Linked DNA regions of Homo sapiens: region 1 is linked to region 2. The links are contacts of gene promoters, found by promoter capture Hi-C in blood cells and fetal thymus (Javierre and others, 2016). All regions are on one chromosome and are shown on one strand. The core of a region is centred on a gene start or on the middle of the fragment in contact, and the rest is flanking DNA. Distances in the headings are between cores, read along the strand shown. Region 1 overlaps NEK11 (NIMA related kinase 11). Region 2 holds the start of MRPL3 (mitochondrial ribosomal protein L3).

The links. The method cuts DNA at HindIII sites, captures the fragments that hold promoters and counts their contacts. A CHiCAGO score of 5 or more calls a contact.
Region 1: a fragment that was not itself captured here is called in contact with the fragment with the promoter of MRPL3 in region 2 in 1 of 17 cell types (neutrophils); the score reaches 7.3 in neutrophils.

The regions. Positions count from the first base shown.
Region 1 is chr3:131,269,258-131,275,918 of GRCh38, forward strand. NEK11 (NIMA related kinase 11) reads left to right here. Exons shown (of 18, transcript NM_024800.5): 17 at 4,221-4,317. Among named protein-coding and RNA genes, the nearest start is that of NUDT16-DT, 110 kb to the right of the region's middle. The HindIII fragment of the contact is 2,027 bases long and covers 1,791-3,817 here.
Region 2 is chr3:131,501,721-131,508,466 of GRCh38, forward strand. MRPL3 (mitochondrial ribosomal protein L3) reads right to left here and starts at 1,251. Exons shown (of 10, transcript NM_007208.4): 1 at 1,010-1,251. The coding sequence starts at 1,101. LOC105374114 (a long non-coding RNA gene) reads left to right here and starts at 879. Exons shown (of 3, transcript NR_189111.1): 1 at 879-984. RefSeq lists enhancers at 887-1,573, 1,080-1,149. The HindIII fragment of the contact is 1,488 bases long and covers 551-2,038 here.

The sequences.
Region 1 (6,661 bases), core at 1,554-4,053, 230 kb before region 2:
CCTTTCCAGGGAAGTGAACGATTTTGTCTCGCTGGCATTCCAGGTGCCACTGGAGTATGAAAAACAACTCCTGCAGCTAGCTCAGTGTCTGCTCAAATGGCCACCCAGTTTTGTGCTTGAAACCCAGGGCCCTGGTGGCATAGGCACCCGAGGGAATCTCCTGGTCTGTGGGTTGCAAAGACCATGGGAAAAGCATAGTATCTGGGCCAGAGTGCACCATTCCTCATGGCACAGTCCCTCATGGCTTCCCTTGGCTAGGCGACGCCCCACCCTGCTTCAGCTCACCCTCTGTGGGCTGCACCCATTGTCTAACCAGTCCCAATGAGATGAGCTTGGTACCTCAGTTGGAAATGGAGAAATCACCCGCCTTCTGTGTTGATCTCACTGGCAGCTGCTGACTGGAGCTGTTCCTATTCGGCCATCTTGCCCATTCCATCCAAAAGTAGTTTTTGAAAATTAACATGGGGATTAAGGATTCAGCTATTTTTCAGAAAGCAGAGCTTTAAGAAAGCAGAGCTCTAGAACCAGGGCTTCATGGACGTGAGACCAGTGCAGTTACACAGAGCCCTAGGTTCAGGAAGGAGCCCACACATGGGGTTTCATAAAATTTTATCTTTGAATTTGTGTTTTATGAGTGAAAGCTGATAACACAGTGGAACACAGGCTCAAGGCTTAAAGCCTTGCTCATGTGCTGTCTTGCCTTTAAGACATCTACCTGGGAAGGTTCCTCTGCCACCTAGCCCTTAATCCCCATCCCATAACTACTGCAATCTTCCATTCCCAATGGGATCCTAGGTAATAGTGAGGAAGGGTTGCCGTGAGGTAAGACTGCCAGGTCCCTATAAGTGTCTACACTCCCCTGCAGAGTATCTGCCCTAGTTCCTGAGGGAGAATGACATTAAATACCCAACAAAAAGCACAATGACAGGTCCACAGACAAATACAGACCCCCCAAAAAACAGCTTTTCTCTTGTTTCTTGAACAAGGATTTCTGCGTTGTCATTTAGCACTGGGCCCCACAAATTATGTAGCTGGCCTGTCTAGAGCCTTACTACTCAAAGTGTGGTTGCAGGACCAGCAGCATTGGTATCACCTGGGAACATATGGAAACGTAGAATCCCAAGCCCTACCCAAACCTACTAAAGAAGAATCTGCATTTTAACAAGATCCCTGGATGATTTGTATGACATTAAAGTTTGAGAAGCAGTGGTCTAAAACACACTCTGGGATTCAGTCACCTATTGGATGACATCTATGTTCTTGCCCCAATTATTTTTATTATGATTGTTAAATGAATTGTCCTTTTCTTTGACATAAAGCAACTACTATTCATGTTGGAAGATGGGAGGCAGAGGGAAAGAAAGTTGGCCAATAAGAAACACTGAAAAAGGAATTGCTCTGAGCACCAAGCTTTGCCAACCCTGTTACTCGAAATTATACTTGCCCTGTTTTCTACCCTTGGGCTTAAGGCTTAGCATCTTTCCTAGCAGACTGAGTGCCTTATTGAGGGAAACTGTAGCCAGCTTAAAATAAACTGCAGCTCTCCTGGAAATTGCTTTGACCTTTATTTGCATAAGTCTTCAAAACTTGCCAGCTCTGGAAAAGATGGGAAAGGAGCACCTTATTTTTATTCTTGGCGGAACTGATTTTTGAGCTTGCATGTGAGTTACTTAGCATGGTATGGTTGGTGTTGTTTTAGTAACTTTTTAGGTTCTAGGAAAGATTATTGTAAAAAGCAACCAACAGGAATATGAAATAAACCCCTATGCCTTCCTCTTGCCCACTCCCCAAGCTTCCTGGGGAAAAGTATCTGTCCTGGCCAGAGTTAGTGGGAAGGTTGGAGCTGACAGAAAGCTGCTGTCCAGTTGCAGTGAGGGCCGAGGCAAATTTTCTCTCCAGGTGTGGAAGGGGCAATCTCCAGGAGTGAGAGAAATGGGAGCAATCAGTTGCTGGTACTTGTGTCTTTATCATGAAGGCATAACTGGTGAATGTACTATGAGCAACACATTGTTAATTTGTATTATGCCCTTTACAAGGTTTGTCCCTGTTAATCCAGTATTTCCATAACTAGGGATCTAGTCCAAGGAAAGATCAGAGACTTTGGCACAGAATTAAGCTGGAGAATATTCATCTCAATTATATCTATAGGAGCAAGAAGTTCAAAGTGGGATACATGCCCCAACAGGTAGTGCAAAAGGAGGATGTATGTGAGACATATTAGAATTTGCATTTAACTTTTAAAATTTAAAAAATAGAGCCAGTCGGGGTGGCTCACGCCTGTAATCCCAGCACTTTGGCAGGCCGAGGCAGGCGGATCACCTCAGGTCAGGAGTTCGAGACTAGCCTGACCAACATGGCAAAACCCTGTATCTACTAAAAAGAAAAAAATTAGCTGGGCTTGGTGGCGGGAGCCTGTAATCCCAGCTACTTGGGAGGCTGAGGCAGGAGAATTGCTTGAACCCAGGAGGTGGAGGATGCAGTGAGCCGAGATCTCACTATTGCACTCCAGCCTGGGCAACAAGAGCAAAACTCCATCTCAAAAAAATAAAAAGGTCGGGTGTGGTGGCTCACGCCTGTAATTCCAGCAGTTTGGGAGGCCGAGGTGGGCGGATCACCTGAGCTCGGGAGTTTAAGACCAGCCTGACCAACAGGAGACCAACAGGAGATAACCTGTCTCTACTAAAAATACAAAATTAGCCAGGCATGGTGGCGCACGCCTGTAATCCCAGCTACTCAGGAGACTGAGGCAGAAGAATCACTTGAACCCGGGAGGCAGAGGTTGCGGTGAGCCGAGATCACGCCATTGCATTCCAGCCTGGGCAACAAGAGCGAAACTCCGTCTCAAAAAAAAGAAGAAGAAAAAGTTTTACTAATATGTAAAATGGGGACTCCACCTTGCTTCTTTACTTGGTCCCTAAGTCAAGCAGGCACATGTTATATGAGATATGTTGAGAAAAGAATGGGAATTTCATAACATGAGTCTCTTCTCTCTGACATAGCAACTACATGGATATAATTTATAAATGATCATTGGAGTGGACAGTTTTTTACTGATGGGATGTGAAGCACCTTATAAGAGATCTAAGGACGTGCACAGGGAGTACTCTGCTCCCAGTTCCAGGGAGGAAAGAGCAGCATAGGGCCAAATTGTAAATTCAGCTCTATGGATTGCCCTGAGCTCTTGCTAATGGGCCAGTTTTAGCTTCTTTTTTTTTTTTTTTTTTTTTTTTTTTTTTGAGACAGAGCCTTGTTCTTTCACCCAGGCTGGAGTGCCGTGGTGCGATCTGAGCTCATTGCAACCTCCGCCTCCCAAGTTCAAGTGATTCTCCTGTCTCAGCCTCCAGAGTAGCTGGGATTACAGGCAAGTGCCACCACACCCAGCTAATTTTTATATTTTTAGTAGAGACGAGGTTTCACCATGTTGGCCAGGCTGGTCCCAAACTCGTGACCTCAGGTGATCCGCCCACCTCAGCCTTCCAAAATGCCGGGATTACAGGCATGAGCCACTGCACCCAACCCAGTTTTAGCTTTTTAATGGAAAGTAGTGTTGTTTCAGTTGATGGAATATTTCTTTCCCTCAGTTTCAACATGTTTTATAAGAGCCTTCAGGATGTTTCATTAAAAACTGTAGCTCTCTCAGCAGATTTCATTACACCTCAACTTTCATTACCAACTCTTACCCTCTGAACACAACTTTGGCCTTCTGCTCCATTCTGCTGAAGTTTAAAGCTGCAGATAGGACCTCTGGTCAGCATTTTGCTTTCCATTGCAAAAAAAGCTAATGCTCAGGTATAAGATTAAGATAAAAGGAAAACTAAGCTTATTAGAAAAATTCCTAGTCACTTAGTCAAACATCCACACCTGCTGAAAGAGAATGGCCAAAGGGTCCTCAGGAACACTTGCTTTTCTATAGATACATTTCCCCCTGAGTTTTCTAGGATAAAAAGCTCATCTTTTAAATAATGGTGTTTTGTTTAAACAATCCTTTGTGAGAGAGGCTTTCTCCTGGAATACCTTGTGCATATTAAAACTGTAAATAATCTTGTCATTTGGAATAAATCTTCTTAATGTGCGTGTTATAATTGAATTCATCTCTAATTAATGTAGCATTACCATGTGGCAAAGGTGGATTAGCTTCTGTTTTCTGATTGCCCTTGAACATCGCCTTGAAGTTGCAGGATTGCTGATGAAGTCAATAAGGGCTGTGCATTGATTTTCAGACACAAAGACCATCACCACCATGGCTGAAGACATGTCCCCAGGACCACCAATTTTCAACAGTGTGATGGCCAGGACCAAGATGAAACGCATGAGGGAGTAAGTAGCATGTTGCCTGCCCCCTAGGAAGGTGCAGTGTTAAAGCATATTGACCAAGTGTGTGACCCAGTCATGTGATACTGTCTTAGTCCATTTGTGCTGCCGTGACAAAATACCTGGGACTAAGCTGTTCCAACTTAGAAACTTCTCTCTAAAATTCACTTTCTGTATTGGTGCTGGTCGAATAATTAGGGAAGTTTGGCAAGAATTATTTTTCAGTTGATTTGCACTTATAGTATTCTTGCAGCACAGCACATTCTCATCCATGCTAATGTTTGAAAGCAAAGGAGAAAAAAATGCTGAAAATTATTTCCAAGCCTAAAGCTGTTACTATGTTTATATACTTATTGTTTTCTAGCCCTACCTGTACCAGAGTGGTCTTTTTTTTTTATTATTATTATACTTTAAGTTTTAGGGTACATGTGCACATTGTGCAGGTTAGTTACATATGTATACATGTGCCATGCTGGTGCGCTGCACCCACTAACTCATCGTCTAGCATTAGGTATATCTCCCAATGCTATCCCTCCCCCCTCCCCCCACCCCACAACAGTCCCCAGAGTGTGATATTCCCCTTCCTGTGTCCATGTGATCTCATTGTTCAATTCCCACCTATGAGTGAGAATATGCGGTGTTTGGTTTTTTGTTCTTGCGATAGTTTACTGAGAATGATGATTTCCAGTTTCATCCATGTCCCTACAAAGGACATGAACTCATCATTTTTTATGGCTGCATAGTATTCCATGGTGTATATGTGCCACATTTTCTTAATCCAGTCTATCATTGTTGGACATTTGGGTTGGTTCCAAGTCTTTGCTATTGTGAGTAGTGCCACAATAAACATACGTGTGCATGTGTCTTTATAGCAGCATGATTTATAGTCCTTTGGGTATATACCCAGTAGTGGGATGGCTGGGTCAAATGGTATTCCTAGTTCTAGATCCCTGAGGAATCGCTACACTGACTTCCACAATGGTTGAACTAGTTTACAGTCCCACCAACAGTGTAAAAGTGTTCCTATTTCTCCACATCCTCTCCAGCACCTGTTGTTTCCTGACTTTTTTTTTTTTTTTTTTTTTTTTTTTTTTTTGAGACGGAGTCTCGCTCTGTCGCCCAGGCCGGACTGCGGACTGCAGTGGCGCAATCTCGGCTCACTGCAAGCTCTGCTTCCCGGGTTCACGCCATTCTCCTGCCTCAGCCTCCCGAGTAGCTGGGACTACAGGCGCCTGCCACCGCGCCTGGCTAATTTTTTGTATTTTTAGTAGAGACGGGGTTTCACCTTGTTAGCCAGGATGGTCTCGATCTCCTGACCTCGTGATCCACCCGCCTCGGCCTCCCAAAGTGCTGGGATTACAGGCGTGAGCCACCGCGCCCGGCCGTTTCCTGACTTTTTAATGATTGCCATTCTAACTGGTGTGAGATGGTATCTCATTGTGGTTTTGATTTGCATTTCTCTGATGGCCAGTGATGATGAGCATTTTTTCATGTGTTTTTTTGGCTGCATAAATGTCTTCTTTTGAGAGTGGTCTTATAATAACATAATTACCATGGCAAGAACTGATTCCCAGAAATTGAAAGTGAGGGAGTATGGATTAATTTTTCCCTCTGTAGAGGGAAACTACCTCCACCTCTCCTTGCTTGGAGGAGATAATATAGAAGGTGTTGCTAATTTCCCAGTTGATAGTCTTTAAAGAGAAGAAAAGTGGTTTGCTTATTTTACCCGTAAAAGTTAACAATGTGGTGTCAGATTTTTGATCTAAGACTTCATTACTTTTGCAAAGTACACAATACCCCATTTCCTAGCATATTATGAAATGTTTTAAATAATTAAAATGAAAATATTTTGCTAAATTAATTGGCCAAGATGCATTCTAATGATTTTATTCCTAGTGTGTTGTTTTTTTTCTCCTTATTGCTTGGCTGTAATTGACCAAGTACTTTCTGGCTCACCTTTTTCATGTGGGCTACTGCAGTTTGGGTTACTCCCCCATGGATGGTATTGCTCCTCTAGTGGAATAACCTGCCATCCTTTTATATTTTATATTGTGAATCCTTATGCCATTCCAGAAAAGGCAAAAGGAAATCAAGGCTGCAAATCTGCATGTCTTTTGAGCATGTTGTGTTTTCTCAGTTTCAAAGACTTAGAAGCCAGCCAGAGAGAGGAAATCTTGCTGTTCTTTCTCTGCACTGTGATATACTGCATGCTCAGCATATGGATGGCAACTATTGGGATGCCAAGAAGAATAGTTAATGACATTTGTCTCCATAGAGATTATAATGTAGAGAAAACACAAAACTTCAAATGCAAAACGTTAAATGACAACATAGTGGTTATGTAATATGA
Region 2 (6,746 bases), core at 1-2,500:
AAAAGAAAAAATAAATAAAACCAAACCACAATTTAAAAACTTCCTCCACTTAATATAGAAAAGGGAAGTCACAAATTGGAAAGTGTAGTCAGGGCCTTGGGAAAGGGCTTGGATTCTGTATACCTTTTTTTCAGGTCTCCAACCTTTTCCTCACTCCCCACATTCCTTCGGATAAGGCTCACATTTAAACTGTTAGTCGTTACCCTGGAGAAAAAAATTCATCTTCTCCTCGCAGATAAACATATTCCCCAAAAAACAGTCCTACCTATAGACATGAAAAGCCACTAACCCATTTGGAAGTGTACCTTAATAGTTTTACATTCAGTGGAGGTGGCAGAAGGTGGCATGTTGATCTTTGTCTAACAAGCTCACCTCCTCCCTGCAATGACATGGCCTAGGTTCAGAGAAGTGAAGAAACTGGGTGTGCAAAGTTAAAAGATCCACAAAAGGCATGACCTCTGAACAGGTGAACATACCAAGAAAGACCTTAGTGGGCGGAGGTCAGGAAGAAGGGGTGTAATTCTTGCATGGAGGGTCAGAACAGAAGTAAAGCTTTCTGCAGTCTACTCTCCTTTTGTAGTCAGATAAATTCAGGCTAGATTCCTAATTTTCCACTTATTAGTTGAGTGACTTTGGGCAAATTAACTCACCTCCCTAACCTTCAGTTTTATCTGTAAACCTTATGATAGCAGTTTGCTCCCGTGAGGCTACATAAGGCACCTAATACACTTAGCAGAGCGCTTAGTACCTGGCAAACGCTCACTAATTGTAAGATATGATTGCTGTTAATAGCGTTCGCTGCTAGTGGCTGGCTCATAAGCGTTTTTTAAAAATCACCACTTCAATCCCCTTAGAACGTGCTTCCTTAGGTTAACGGCCCTTATTCTTCTGTGTCCCACGTCTCAACAGAGCCCCTTCCTCCTCCACCCAGGGGAGGCCCAACTGCACCAGGCCATTCCACTGCTTCAGGACGCAACTGTGCAGGTAGGACACCCTCACACCTTCCTACCTGTTCCCCGGGCCCAGGGCAGCACCCAGGCCGTCCCCGAGTCGACCCAGCACCTGGGCGCCGACCTGCGTCAGCAGCCTCCAACCCGGCATGGATTAGCCCGGGAAGACTCGACTCACGACTTCCGGGCGCCCTGCCGCTCTGCTTTCAGGGAGTCCCCACGCCACCGCCACGTGGACGCAGTAGCCGTGGGGAAGTTTTCGCAATGGCCGCCGGAACGGTCGCCGGCCGATGCTCTCTGCGACGGAAAGAAAGCCGCCGGACCCACTTCCGGTGCGTTTTACAATGAACTCCGGGCACTCGAGTCGCTCCCCGGAAACTATAGTTCTGCTTCCACCGTTGTCCTACTTTGGATGTGAGTTGGAGTAGGTAGGGGTGGGAAGGGACTGACTCGCCTCTCCAGGGGTAAAATAAAAGGGATGTTCAGAGTTTAAACTTTAGAAGAATAAGGACAGACTTCCTGAGGACGCTAAGGAAAATGAAGACACTTCTAAATAGTGCCCGTTGTGAGGCAATGCATTATGCTAAGCAGCGCTTCATAATCCTATATTTGTTAATCATAAAAAACGGTCCTGAAAGGAAGTATTTATTTTTCTATTATAAATGAGGAAACTGACTCAGAATTTAGGTGCTGGTCCAAAACAACACATCTGGCAGAGGAGCAGAGTTGGCACTGAAACAGGGTTGGCATGTGTTATCAATAGACTACACCCATAGAAATGATGTATGCCTTCTAGGGCTGGATCATAAAACATATTGTTACTTCAGTTTTTGTCTCTTGGATTGCTCCCTGTGGAGAAAGCTAGCCTTCATTTCCTGCAGACACTCAAACAGCTCTGCAGGGAGGAACATATAAAGAGGAATCAACTAGCCAGTCATGACTGAGCCACCTAGGAAGTGGATCCACCAGTCCTCGGCTGCAACTCATGGAGACGTTAAGCCTGAATCTCCCAGCCAGGCCGCTCATGAATTACTGACTAGGAGAAATTGCCAGAGAAAATAAATGATTACCGTTTTTTTGAGTCATTAAGCTTTAGGGTAATTTGTTATGCAATAATAGATAGCTAATACACCTGCACAAAAAATCCCCTGTCTTGGGTTCCAGATCTAGCCTAATAACCATGTATGTGACTAGGACATTTATTCTTCTACTAATTCCCTTATTTGTCAGATTACTGTTTGTAGAAATTTGGAAATAAGAACTTTAAAGTGTAGCTATTTCAACCTTCTCTTTTTACTAGAGATCTGGCTATCTTGGTTTAACAGGTCCAGACAATGGTCAATTCCTGGCCATTACTTGGACTTTAGTGGGCTAAAAAATCTTTGCTTTGCTTGTCCATTCATTCCACTCATTGCTGTTGCAGTTACCTTAGACACTTTTCAATAATACTTTGGACCTTGAAGGAAAAACTACATCTCTTCATTCTAGCCATGCTGCCTGGCTTCCCAGATACTTAAGGATGGCTCTTCATTGAACAAACATGTTTTGAGGTGTGCTACATGCAAGAAGTTGAGAATAAGAAGATTTCTGTACTACTGCCAATAACTAACATTTCTTATCCATATAGTGTGCTAGAGTATGTGCTCAGCATTGTGGAAGCCCATAAGCCAAGGCTACTAGAAGAAAACGTGAACTCATACAAAGTCAAGTTTAATTAGCTTGATGCAGCAAAAGACAGCATATGTCTGAGGATGTTTCCAAAAGAGTGACCTGGGAGGGGCTTGAAATGAAATTTGGACTTAAGGCTGAGTGATTTTAAAGTGGCATCAGAGAAGCAGGAACTTGTTTTAGAATGGGTGCTGTCAAGAAGAAAGGACAGTTCAGCAATTGGATATCTTGATAGTCTTTGTTCTAGAGACAGGAAGAACAGAGAGGAAGTGGGCATGATGTTCATAAGAAAGCAGGAATCACTCAGAATAAGGAACTGTTAGTCATTTTGCTGCAGTGGTGTGGCCTACAGTACGGTCTGTAAGAAATATTGTAATGATGGGCTGGGCGTGGTGGCTCAGCACTTTGGGATGCCAAGGCGGGTGGATCACGAGGTCAGGAGATTGAGACCATCCTGGCTGACATGGTGAAACCCCTTCTCTACTAAAAATACAAAAAAAAATTAGCCGGGCGTAGTGGCGGGTGCCTGTAGTCCCAGCTACTCAGGAGGCTGAGGCAGGAGAATGGTGTGAACCTGGGAGGCGCAGCTTGCAGTGAGCGAGATTGAGCCACTGCACTCCAGCCTGGGTGACAGAGCAAGACTCCGTCTCAAAAAAAAAAAAAAGAAATATTGTATTGATGTTCTGCTATAAACACTGCAGTCCAGTTACTAATAGTATTCATTTTTACTCTCTCAGTGTATTTTCTCACTTGATTGTTATGACAATCTGCTGTGACAATAGTATAATTATCTGGATCTTACAGTTAAGAAAATAGGCATACAGAGATTACATAACTTAAATAAAATCACCCAGCTATTAACTGGTAGAGCCAAAGACTGTGACCATAGATAGAGCTTATGCTTTTAGACATTTTGTTTCTTTGGCTCTCTATGACAAATATGTCACTACTCTTGCCTTGGAATTTCTTTAAGGCTAAAGAGGAAAATCGGTAAGTAATCACACGCAGTGGTCAGTGAGGATTGAAGAGGTAGCCATTTGGTCTAACCTTTTCCCATAGTACCAAATATCTCCTAGTCCATAAGGAGGACCTTGACAGCAGGCACCACCGCTGAACTGAATCAAAGTAAAACATGGTTTGTCTGCTGTCGTAAAAAATGTGTCTCCTGATTGCCAGCCAGGGCTGAGTGGTGTCATACTTGATTTAGTCACTGTAATATGCTGCTGACAGCTACTAGGCCCAGTTGTCAAGGGACCCAGCCTAGGCTTTTCTAGGGCAGTCAGGCACTGACCTAGAGCTTCCTGTTATTTCTGATGTCATCCTTCAGACACTGCCTTAGACCCTGAAACTGTAATGCCATTTTGCCTCTCTAAGATTTCAATTCCTTATTGGAACGAAGATAACTTGCACTTTCTCTTTTTAGTGGTACAGTTCTATAACTCTTACTCCGCTAATTCAGACCAACAGATGATCTCATAAACCTTCTCTTATTAAATAAAACATTAGGAATAGATTCATTTTTGAATTACTAAAGCCATGTTCAATACAAGAGAATCATCATAGAAGGAGCAGATTTCAAAGCAAGAGTTCACTGGAAATAATCTTTTATATGTGTTCCTGCCATTAGGCTCTACCATTAGCTCTTATAATGTTTGTGATATATCCTGTATAGTTGGATTATTGCAAGATGGTAAATTTTGTGTTGGGTAATTTCCACTTTAGTATTCATTTATGCTGTCTCTTAGTTTATAACATACCTTATATTTGAAATTAGAAATCTTTTAAACAATGAGTTTGGATTTACTAAGTTATCCTTTTTTTTCTCCATTTTTCTCAAGTTGTGAGAATCTAGCATATTTTAAAATCAGTAAAGATGTTATGAAAGTGAGTCAAGCATTCAATGGGGATATAGATAAAATAAACTTTAAGAGATTTTTGAACTTTAAGATTTCATTGCTGGCTGAAATAGAAAATTTGAAAGGCTGTATTGCAAAATCCACAGATACTCATTCAGTAAGAGAATGAATTCTGCTTCAATGTCCTTCAGTAAGGCCAAATCACAATTTGTAACTTTAATATATTGCTTTTAAAACATAATTTTTATTTGTAAATTCCCAAGTAAGCCCACAGACTTTAGGGTTCCAAGAGATGATCAGAATTAAAATTCATTTGGCTTGAAGAAAGCCTTAAAAAAATAGAAAAAAGCAGTATGGCCATGTAGTAATCTGGGTTTAAGGTTTCAAAACTTAATGTAATTATACCAATGTCCATTTTTTAAAGTTCTTTGATTACTTAGAAAAAATATTAGCAACAGACAATGTAGCATCACATGCCAGGGAACCAATGCTTTTCAAAAGGACATCTCTTCCTCCCTGGTCTTCCTCCCAATGCCAGTGTAGTTTTGATGGCCAGAGTATAGCTCCAAACCAGTGGATACTCTAGCCACCTAGAATCATAATCAGGATTACCCCTCTGAGCCTTACAGATACAGAATCTGGAGAAATTCTAAAGACTGAGTTCATTTAGGATTTTGATTCCACTTAGAGGAGGCCTAGGGATTCCCTGAAAAATGATAAATAACTAACATTTGCATTGCTTTTGCTAAGTGGCAGACACTGATCTATGTGCTTTCCATATATTAACTTATTTAATCCTCACCTGTGAAGTGGGTACTGTTAGTCTCAACCCCATTTTACAAATATGGAAACTGAGGCACAGAGACGATGAGCAGGTCATTCAAGTGCACAAACTTTACATTTGTTAAGTAAGTGGTGGAGACAGGAGTTGAGGCCAGGCAGGCTGTCTAGAGTCCAAGTGCTTAACTGATCTGCTGTACTGCCTCTGTCCTTAGAAGAGAAAGCTGCATAGCACATTATTGGAACACTCAGCTCAGCATCCAGAGGATGCCCCAGACCAACAAAGATTGATGATGATAGTGCTAAGCCTGCATCTTTAGGCGTCTCATCAGTCTAGATCAGAATCCGTCGGTCTCAAGAGAGAATGATGAGGCCGAACTGCTTGAGATATTCACCCATTCAATTCCTATGCAACCTCATTGGAGGCTTTTCAGAGCCCACGTGATGTTGAAAGCCTGTGATTCTCAACCCTGAATGTGTACAAGATTTACCTGGGAATCTTGCTAAAATGCGGAACCTGATTCATTAGGTCTAGGGTGGGATCTGAGAGTCTGCATTTCTAAGAAGCTCAAGATGATGTCAGTGCTGACCACATTTTGGGTAGCAGCATTCTAAAAATGGCTGTGAACTCAGAGCCAAGAGACTTGGGATTCAATCTCAGGTCTAAACTTAACTAGCAGTGCGACACAGAGTAAATCACTTCACCTCTCTGCCTGTTCATCTGTCCAGCTGAGGTCCCTTCTAGTCTTCTAAGTGAAAGTCCTTCTGGAAGGTAGAAAACAGTAGTTATATTATTCTTTCTTTTTTTTTTTTCTTTTTTGTAAAGATGGAGTCTCGCTCTGTCACCAGGCTGGAGTGCAGAGTCTCACTCTGTCACCAGGCTGGAGTGCAGTGGCGTGATCAAGGCTCACTGCAACCTCTGCCTCCTGGGTTCAAGCAATTGTCCGCCTCAGCATACCAAGTAGCTGAGTTTACAGGGGCCCGCCACCATGCCCGGCTAATTTTTGTATTTTTTTTTTTTTTAAGTAGAGACAGGTTTCACCATGTTGGCCAAGATGTTCTTGATCTCTTGACCTCGTGATCCACCTGCCTCAGCCTCCTAAAGTGCTGGGATTACAGGTGTGAGCCACTGCGCCCAGCCACAATAGTCACATTATTCTAAATGTTTACGTCCTAATTCTTGAAATCTGTAAATGTCCTTTATTACGTGACAAAAGGGACTTTGCAGATGTAATTAGAGTTTTGAACCTTGAGATGTGGAGATTATACTAGATTATCTGGGTGGGCCCAATGTAATTACATGAATCCTTAAAATCTGAGAACATTTCTGGCTGTGGTGAGAAATGTAACAATGGAGGAAGGGTAAGATAAATGCAATGTAAAAAGAATCAACCTAACAGTGTTTACCTGGAAGATGGAAGAAGGGGTCCACAAGCCAAGGAATGCAGTGACCTCTAGAAGCTAGAAAAGGCAAGGAACTATATTCTCCTGT